3 separate regions of the Homo sapiens genome follow, and all the other regions are linked to region 1. The links are contacts of gene promoters, found by promoter capture Hi-C in blood cells and fetal thymus (Javierre and others, 2016). All regions are on one chromosome and are shown on one strand. Each heading gives the region's core, a stretch centred on a gene start or on the middle of the fragment in contact. The rest is flanking DNA. Distances are from core to core; before and after follow the strand shown. Region 1 holds the start of TRPM8 (transient receptor potential cation channel subfamily M member 8). Region 2 holds the start of UGT1A6 (UDP glucuronosyltransferase family 1 member A6). Region 3 holds the start of UGT1A3 (UDP glucuronosyltransferase family 1 member A3).

What was found. Contacts are between HindIII fragments. The CHiCAGO score rates a contact against its expected background, and 5 or more counts as called.
Region 2: the fragment with the promoter of UGT1A6 here is called in contact with the fragment with the promoter of TRPM8 in region 1 in 3 of 17 cell types (M2 macrophages, M1 macrophages and endothelial precursors); the score reaches 6.7 in M2 macrophages.
Region 3: a contact is called between the fragment with the promoter of UGT1A3 here and the fragment with the promoter of TRPM8 in region 1, in 4 of 17 cell types (endothelial precursors, neutrophils, total CD8 T cells and 1 more). The highest score is 8.4, in endothelial precursors.

Annotation. Positions count from the first base shown.
Region 1 is chr2:233,915,763-233,918,847 of GRCh38, forward strand. TRPM8 (transient receptor potential cation channel subfamily M member 8) reads left to right here and starts at 1,611. Exons shown (of 26, transcript NM_024080.5): 1 at 1,611-1,670. The HindIII fragment of the contact is 1,520 bases long and covers 1,590-3,085 here.
Region 2 is chr2:233,691,460-233,694,544 of GRCh38, forward strand. UGT1A6 (UDP glucuronosyltransferase family 1 member A6) reads left to right here and starts at 1,431. Exons shown (of 5, transcript NM_001072.4): 1 at 1,431-2,406. The coding sequence starts at 1,546. The region is part of intron 1 of UGT1A8 (UDP glucuronosyltransferase family 1 member A8); the gene reads left to right. The region is part of intron 1 of UGT1A10 (UDP glucuronosyltransferase family 1 member A10); the gene reads left to right. The region is part of intron 1 of UGT1A9 (UDP glucuronosyltransferase family 1 member A9); the gene reads left to right. It also overlaps UGT1A7 and UGT1A. RefSeq lists enhancers at 1-176, 177-783. The HindIII fragment of the contact is 26,798 bases long and covers 1-3,085 here.
Region 3 is chr2:233,727,408-233,730,492 of GRCh38, forward strand. UGT1A3 (UDP glucuronosyltransferase family 1 member A3) reads left to right here and starts at 1,635. Exons shown (of 5, transcript NM_019093.4): 1 at 1,635-2,586. The coding sequence starts at 1,720. The region is part of intron 1 of UGT1A8 (UDP glucuronosyltransferase family 1 member A8); the gene reads left to right. All of the region lies in intron 1 of UGT1A10 (UDP glucuronosyltransferase family 1 member A10), which reads left to right. The region is part of intron 1 of UGT1A9 (UDP glucuronosyltransferase family 1 member A9); the gene reads left to right. It also overlaps UGT1A7, UGT1A6, UGT1A5, UGT1A4 and UGT1A. The HindIII fragment of the contact is 4,368 bases long and covers 1-3,085 here.

The sequences.
Region 1 (3,085 bases), core at 361-2,860:
TCTCTCTCTCTCTCTCTCTCTCTCTCTCTCTCTCTCTCTTTTCTTGAGACAGAATCTCACTCTGTCACCCAGGTTGGAGTGCAGTGGCATGATCTCGGCTCACTGCAACCTCCACCTCCCAGGTTCAAGGGATTCTCATGTCTCAGCCTCCTGAGTAGCTGGGATTACAGGCACGTGCCACCACACCTGGCTAATTTTTGTATTTTTAGTAGAGACAGGGTTTTGCCATGTTGCCCAGGCTGGTCTTGAACCCCTGACATCAAGCAATCGGCCCGCCTCAGCCTCCCAAAGTGCTGGGATTACAGGCATGAGCCACTGCACCCAGCTGGCTCAATATTTCTAACAGCTAAAAAGCTCATTTTGCTGCTCCGCTCCTCAGATGGACTTGCTCCCCTGTGCAGTGCTATATATGTGCTTGGGGACCATGCTGGGTATGGGAGTTTTTAGTCCTAGGACCCATATTTAGAGTAATTCTGAGATTTCTCTGATTCTCTCTCTCTATTTCTAGCTGGATCTCTTCTCTCACGGGTCCTCATTCAAATCTATCATTTCCAGTTTTCCACAGCCCCCACCCTTCCCTACTTACTACCTAACACTTGGCTGCTCCCTTCATCTTTATGACCTGTCTGAGCCTTGGAATATTTGAGTTTGAGACCTCTGTCTGGAGTCTTTTGTCTCTCTTTGTTAAGGGGGTTTTCTTCTTGAATTGAACATGCTTTCTGCAGGAGTTATCACTACAACCCTATCCTTCCTTTCAGACCTTGCTCAAATCTCTCTGCCTTTGCAAAAAACCCCTTCACACTCCTTCTCTTTCATCTCTAACCTTTTTGCAAGTGTATGTCTTGTGCAATCAGTTCCTGAAATACACTATCCTATTTGTATTTCTCTATGACATATGCTTCATATGAAAATAAAATAGAAATAATGGCCAAAACAGAGGAACATTAGTTATAATATAACTGTTATGTTTGTGGCACGTGATTTAAGTAAAATGACCGAAAGTTGCCCACTGACAATTGTTACTTATTTCTTCGAGGAGAGCTCTTCCAAAGTGTAGTTTAAAGGGGACAGGAAATAGCTGTAAATTAATGAAGCTGGATTTGCTCACCTCCATGATGCCCTCTTGCCTGGCCCAATACTGCATTTAGTTGGTATGAGGAAAGTTCACAAAATCTGCAAAAAAGCAATGTTGGTTAAATTTCCTCTATTTAATAATTTTTTTCCTAATCTTAATTAAGAGCTTTTAATTTATTAATTAATCTTGTCATCACTTTCTATAATGAGCATTTCCCATTTTATTTGTGGTTTTTAAAATGTGCCATTAATTGCAGAAATTAAGTATTAGTATGATTTCATACTATGGTGTTATTGTCAAGCTAAGAGCAGGAATTTGGTATCATTTCTTTATTAGCATTTAAAATACCATGTTCACTAATTATCCATTCCCTACTCGTATTCCACTGCTAAATTGCTGCTATGCTTGGAGGCTTTAGGAGTCTTCTTGCAATTTCAGCGGCTTAAGTTTTTTGTTCCTCTGCTTAAAAGAACCTCAGAGAAGAAGGCGGGGCTAAGAAGATTCCAGTTATAAAAGCTTTCCTCCTCCTGTGGGGAGAGACCAGCAGGATCCTTGGGTGAAAGAAAATCCTGCTTGACAAAAACCGTCACTTAGGGTATGTCATCAACTTTTGCTTTTTGCTTCTCCTTAAATGTTGCCATTGCTGTAACTTGTAGAATAGTACGAGTTTGTGTCTCTGGGAGGGGCATCATTTAGTTTTTCTATGAAGATTTGAAACTAAAGGAAGACAAAAATTTAAATTCCTCAAAGTGTTGTGGGCATAAGCAAATGCGGGTTCACAGATATATCTAATCCTCACTTAGATTTATTTAGAAATGTAGAATTATTTGCTGAATTTTTGAATGACTTTAAATATAATTACAGTTTTCTGTTTCTGATTGAAGGAGTTAGAAACTCCCTAAATGAGCTTTAATGAAAAATTCACTGGCATCTGAACTCTGCAACTGACTATCTGAAGCAATCCTATTGGGAACATAATAAAACAAGTTTTTTCTTGAATCAAGACTATGGTGAAATGTAAATTAACATCAAGAAATAATGCATTCAAATAGTAAATATTCTTTGATAATGAAAGGAGCGGGTATATTTAGCTTGTTTTTACATACTGTGTTTCCTTCCGTTCTTCCAGCCTGTTGAAACAGGCTCATCATTTGTATTATTTATAAGCAAGAGAGAAACACTGAAGGGCTGGATGAATAATTAAAGGTTTTATTTCCATTTAATTTTCAATCCATTATTGCCAGTGCTGACTTTTTCAGTGTTAGGATTCTTGAGCTGAACATAAGGAAATGGTTATTCCTTAAGACTATTCTATATGTGCTAATACAAAGATACTGATCATGAGAGAAGTTTTAGCTTGTCAAAATCTTGACAGTGCAAAGGACTTACTTCCAAGGTTGTGACTTTGGATGCATATTTATTTATAATTTGGAAAAAAGCTGTTTATTATTATTTATTAATAAGATATTTATAATTATATTACAAATAATATAATTGTTATAGAAATAATATAATTACATTATAAATTATAATTACATTACAATTTATAATAATAATTATCACTATCTTTGTTTTGCCTAAGAACTGATATCATTCTTGGCACCTGTGAAGACAGTAGGGGTCCAGGCTGCATAGGGACCCCTGCTTTTCCTCTTATTCTAAGAGGGTCTCAGCAAATAGCATCTTGGAGCATCACCTGCTGCCTGTATCTACCTCCTGTTTCTCACTTCTACTTTTTGGAGCAGGATACCTTGGGGTCAATGACTTCGGGAGCCTCCACTGGCTTTTGCTATTTTCCTAGTTTTCATCCATCTATTCAAACTGAAAAAAATTTGGCTGATAGAGGCAATTAGAAAAACAGGATAATGCCTACAACAAAATAAATCTCAGCTCTCTCCTGGTGGTGACTGAGACATGGAGGCACAGATGCCTAGTGACCTTTTCAGGTATTGTAACCCTTGTATGCACCCCTGCCATGCCCCTGCCAAAATAAGAGTGGAGGAGATCTCT
Region 2 (3,085 bases), core at 181-2,680, 220 kb before region 1:
GAACACCTCCGGTGCCAAACTTGTGGGTGGGAACAGGAACTCGCGTGCCAGCCAGGTGTGCATGACTAGCTCTGGGCAAGTCTGTTCTAGTAATTCAAGGTACCACCTCTCACTGGGACAGCCTAGTTTCTACACAGGTCTTGCTCTGGGACCGCCCTCAGCAGTGTGGTTAGCAGGCAGGGCCAGTGTGACCCTCCCTTTCTGGGCCTCAGTTGAGAAACCTGAAGCTCAGGAGAGGAGTCACTCCCCTGGCAGATGGGTGGCTGGGCCAGAAGCAGATACCAGGCTTTCTGACTCCTGCTCTAGGATTCTCACCACGTACTGGCTAGACTTATACTTCTCAAATCTTAATTTCCTAAAGGCAAGTAACAGTTTGAATGTTGTTATATTGTGATGTATAATAAGAAATATATGTTTGTCTTTGTTTCCTGGACACAGCTCCTGAAACCATAAGTGGTGGGAGCGATAAACGTGAACAAAGAATCTTTTGTTATTCAAAACAGATCCCTTTCGATCACACCTAAGTTTATGTAAAGGAGATGTAAAGTCTCTAAGGATGAGGGCTAGTTGCCAGGGAACAAAACCCTTGCGATTAGAGGGAAGAAAGGAGAGAGAGATTGAAGATTGATTTGATCACCGATGGGCAACAATCTAATCAATCATGCCTACTATGTATGGAAGCCTACATAAAAACTCAGAAGGGCAGGGTTCAGAGAGCTTTCAGGTTGCTGAAGGTGTGGAGGGTGGGGCACCCAGAGATGGCAGATGGGGCTCCATGGCCATACCCCCATATCTTGTTCTTTGTACTTTTTCCTCTGGCTATTCATCCGTATTGTTTGCAATATCCTTTGTAATAAACCAAACCTAGTAAATAAACTGTTTTCTTCAGTTCTGTGAGCCATTCTAGCAAATGATTGACTCCAAGAAAGAGGGTGTGTGAACCTCTGATTTTTGCCAAGTCAGACAGAAGTTGTGGGTAACCTGGGGACCTACTACTTGCAATTGGTGTCTGAAGTGAGGGCAGTCTTGTAGGACTGAGCCCTTAACCTGTGGGGTCCGTGCTAACTCAGAATTCAGTTCAGAATGGAATTGAATTGTAGGATACCCAGCTGGTGTTAGAGAATAGGTCCGTGTGCAAGAAAAATTCCCGCACATCATGGACATAACAGACAACGTCAATGATGAGGAATCCAGCAAGTTCGGGATAGAGAATTGGCAGGGGGTCCTCAGGGGTCTCTCCAAGTCATCTTCAAAGTGTTGCTATAACTTTTCAGAGAGGGAGAAGCAGACTTGTGGAGCTGAAGAGAAACACCCAGAAGCTCAGGTGAAAGCTGACACGGCCATAGTTGGTTCATATTAACCATGTGATTAAAATGGTTAAATATTAATTTGGGTTCTTACATATCAAAGGGTAAAATTCAGAGCAAGGGAGAGGTAGACAGGACCTGTGAAAAGCAGTGGTTAGTTTAGGGAAAATACCTAGGAGCCCTGTGATTTGGAGAGTGAAAACTCTTTATTACCGTTGTTACTTTAACTCTTTCCAGGATGGCCTGCCTCCTTCGCTCATTTCAGAGAATTTCTGCAGGGGTTTTCTTCTTAGCACTTTGGGGCATGGTTGTAGGTGACAAGCTGCTGGTGGTCCCTCAGGACGGAAGCCACTGGCTTAGTATGAAGGATATAGTTGAGGTTCTCAGTGACCGGGGTCATGAGATTGTAGTGGTGGTGCCTGAAGTTAATTTGCTTTTGAAAGAATCCAAATACTACACAAGAAAAATCTATCCAGTGCCGTATGACCAAGAAGAGCTGAAGAACCGTTACCAATCATTTGGAAACAATCACTTTGCTGAGCGATCATTCCTAACTGCTCCTCAGACAGAGTACAGGAATAACATGATTGTTATTGGCCTGTACTTCATCAACTGCCAGAGCCTCCTGCAGGACAGGGACACCCTGAACTTCTTTAAGGAGAGCAAGTTTGATGCTCTTTTCACAGACCCAGCCTTACCCTGTGGGGTGATCCTGGCTGAGTATTTGGGCCTACCATCTGTGTACCTCTTCAGGGGTTTTCCGTGTTCCCTGGAGCATACATTCAGCAGAAGCCCAGACCCTGTGTCCTACATTCCCAGGTGCTACACAAAGTTTTCAGACCACATGACTTTTTCCCAACGAGTGGCCAACTTCCTTGTTAATTTGTTGGAGCCCTATCTATTTTATTGTCTGTTTTCAAAGTATGAAGAACTCGCATCAGCTGTCCTCAAGAGAGATGTGGATATAATCACCTTATATCAGAAGGTCTCTGTTTGGCTGTTAAGATATGACTTTGTGCTTGAATATCCTAGGCCGGTCATGCCCAACATGGTCTTCATTGGAGGTATCAACTGTAAGAAGAGGAAAGACTTGTCTCAGGTTGGTGGGTTTATTTCTTTTGGACTGCCTTGTTTCTTCCAGGCTCTGTCCTCCCTCACTCATTTGGCTCCTTGAGCCGACTGTCCCTTGGAGGATTTCCTGGAGAAACGGTGGGGGGAAGTGATACCCGGCTCGGAGCAGCGGGAACACATAGGAGACCTGAGGCTGAAGTGATACAGAGGCATTCGGATGAAGACAGGGCTCATGCTTGGCAAGAGTAGGAGATTTGCTTAGTTGGATAATCTGGGACAGTCACATACTCATTGAATGAGCCTTAGAAATGTCCCAGTTCAAACAGAGGTGAAGGCTTGACTAAGGGAACAGGTCCAGGTTAAAATCCATTTTCCCAACTCTGTCCCATGCTTTGTCTCTGGACCTTGAGCCAGGGACCAGCGAACTACAGCCTGTGAGCCCAATCTGCCCAAAGGCCTGTTTTTTGTTTTTTTTTTTCCTTTTATGTTGAGACCTGTTTTTATATGGCCCAGAGCTAAGAATGGTTTTTGTAGTTTTAAAACAATTTAACAATGAAGAATATGTGCCACAGAAGTATTTGGTCTGCAAAGCCTACACATTTACTGACTGGCCTTTTCAGCAAAAGGGGTATGGCCTCTGACCTAAGACAAGTGTTTACAGATGCCCTCCTGACATGTAGGAAAAGGGCCCAGAGTTACTTTGGAAA
Region 3 (3,085 bases), core at 385-2,884, 190 kb before region 1:
CCTCAGGGTCTGGGAGTCCCAGACATGTGACAAGAAATCAGATGACTTCACTGTCTAAATAAAACACTACTACTTGGAGGTAGAACATGGGAGCCCATGAATGTGGGAAGAGCACACTACCAGGCGTGTTCCACCCGTCACCTGGGCTCATCATGAGGGTGCTTAGGAAGCATATAGTTTTAAGGGGGTTGGAGGAATAGTTCAGAGGCTGAGAGGTTGCACCCACAGCTGAGAATCCCTTTCTAGTGCTCTATGTCCTTACAAATTCCCAGGAATCATCCTCTACTGGACAGTTCCCAAAGCCCTTGCAGACCTTCCTTTTCTGTGCCATCCTGCGTGTGCTGCCCTTGAGCTGGGTGTCCCCCAGTAGACGCTTCCATTCACTGCCTGTCCCATGGGTTCTGTCCAAAGGTGGAATCTGTTATCAATGTGGAGTAATTTCCTCCCTAAGGGAAGCCTCAGCCTCACCAGCAATGGCAGACACGGCCAGGCAAGAAGACACAGGGGCAGTGAGATAGAAAGTGCACACCCCAGACAGCCTGCCCACATCATCCTGAGGTGACCAGGACAAGGTGGCATCAGCAATCTTGTGAGCACAGCACATGTGGGAGTGACTTTCTGGAGTAGGATAAGCCTCATTGGGCTTGAGGCCCTTGTGAGTGCTCAGGGTCTCTCCTTTAGAAAGGCACATATTTAATTCTCCATCTTGAAATTTGGACTAGGGCCCCCACAAATTGTGCAGCCCATTCTGTTCTGGAGGAACCATTCTTATCAGAACTTGGTGCTGGATTGACTTGGAGAAGAGCCTGACCATAATCTTCAGGATGAAATAAAGGCCTGGATGACTGAAATAAAGACTGGAGCCTTCGGCATTCAGAAGAGGAATTCAGACTGTGCAAGATCTGAGGCCAGGCTCCAGCTCCCCCAGTCCCTTGGTGAGCAGGAGCTCCCTGAACCCACCATGGGTCTTTGCTAGGGTTGTCTTGCCCATGTGTGCTTTAGATAGCAGCACCTCTTCTTCCATGGTGTATATGGAGAATCCTCAACAAAGTCTTCCCAAGAATCTGATCATCACATCTTGAGCTCAGCCTCCCTGCAGCTTTTTCTATATTGACAGCCACTTCAGAGAGAGTCCTCTCTGATCCTTACAAGAAATATCCTGGTGCGAAAAACGACCAAAACCACATAGCCAGCCTCCACGCTGTTCAGAGAAAGCTGGCTTAGCAATGTTGTATGGTTTTTGGATGCGCTGCGTTACTCATACATGAGAAGAAAGTTTCAAGGGTTAGCAAATAGGGTCACATCCAGCAGAGAGCATATGACTGGGGGCTAGGGCAATGGTGACTCCTCAGACCTCAGCTGCTGCCTGATAAACATGGTTAACAGAGAAGTAGGAGACAGTGACATGAAATGGGTGTTCACAGCCTTGTGTTGGGAATTGGATGAGAAACAAGAGCTTGAACTTGGATGTTCCCCAGAGTGAGCACAGGGTCAGACGTGTTTTTCAAGATAGTCATGATCGGTCTTTTCCAGGGTGGGGCCCACAGTGAAAAACAGTGATAGATTAATGGTTAATAATTAACTAGAGGAGGGCACTCTGTCTTCCAATTACACGTTGATTTGCTAAGTGGCTCAGTGACAAGGTAATTAAGATGAAGAAAGCAAATGTAGCAGGCACAGCGTGGGGTGGACAGTCAGCTGTCCGTGTCTTCTGCTGAGATGGCCACAGGACTCCAGGTTCCCCTGCCGTGGCTGGCCACAGGACTGCTGCTTCTCCTCAGTGTCCAGCCCTGGGCTGAGAGTGGAAAGGTGTTGGTGGTGCCCATTGATGGCAGCCACTGGCTCAGCATGCGGGAGGTCTTGCGGGAGCTCCATGCCAGAGGCCACCAGGCAGTGGTCCTCACCCCAGAGGTGAATATGCACATCAAAGAAGAGAACTTTTTCACCCTGACAACCTATGCCATTTCGTGGACCCAGGATGAATTTGATCGCCATGTGCTGGGCCACACTCAACTGTACTTTGAAACAGAACATTTTCTGAAGAAATTTTTCAGAAGTATGGCAATGTTGAACAATATGTCTTTGGTCTATCATAGGTCTTGTGTGGAGCTACTACATAATGAGGCCCTGATCAGGCACCTGAATGCTACTTCCTTTGATGTGGTTTTAACAGACCCCGTTAACCTCTGCGCGGCAGTGCTGGCTAAGTACCTGTCGATTCCTACTGTGTTTTTTTTGAGGAACATTCCATGTGATTTAGACTTTAAGGGCACACAGTGTCCAAACCCTTCCTCCTATATTCCTAGATTACTAACAACCAATTCAGACCACATGACATTCATGCAAAGGGTCAAGAACATGCTCTACCCTCTGGCCCTGTCCTACATTTGCCATGCTTTTTCTGCTCCTTATGCAAGCCTTGCCTCTGAGCTTTTTCAGAGAGAGGTGTCAGTGGTGGATATTCTCAGTCATGCATCTGTGTGGCTGTTCCGAGGGGACTTTGTGATGGACTACCCCAGGCCAATCATGCCCAACATGGTCTTCATTGGGGGCATCAACTGTGCCAACAGGAAGCCACTATCTCAGGTCTGTATTGGTGCCTTCATCCAATCAATGTTCCAGGCAAAACACTTTTTAAAAAAATGTATTTATTTAAAATTGCTTCCATATTTACTTATCTTTCCAAATATTTCATTTCTGCTTCTCCTTGTCATAATAGCCTTCAGTGAGATAAACTGTTAAGGGGTCTCTAGTAGCGTATTTCAGGTTTTAAATGGTCACTGAGAGGAAGAGGAAGTAGACACGAATGTTTGTAAAAGGATGGACAAGGACTGGTGTGACTCATAGAGACTGTTGGTTTGTAAAGGCACCATCTTCATGGTTGTGCATGTCCTTCAGCTTGGCAGGAACAGGGACACTACGTTTGGAACTGATCCATCCTGGATTTTTTGCTAGCATGATTTTCAGGGGAAAGATGATGCAACAGTAAATTACAATTGTTGACATGATAATTTTTAGTTGTCCCATCTTGCAAATGATAGACAGGTGACCACAGGAGACCTAGGCACTCACATGAAATAGAAGT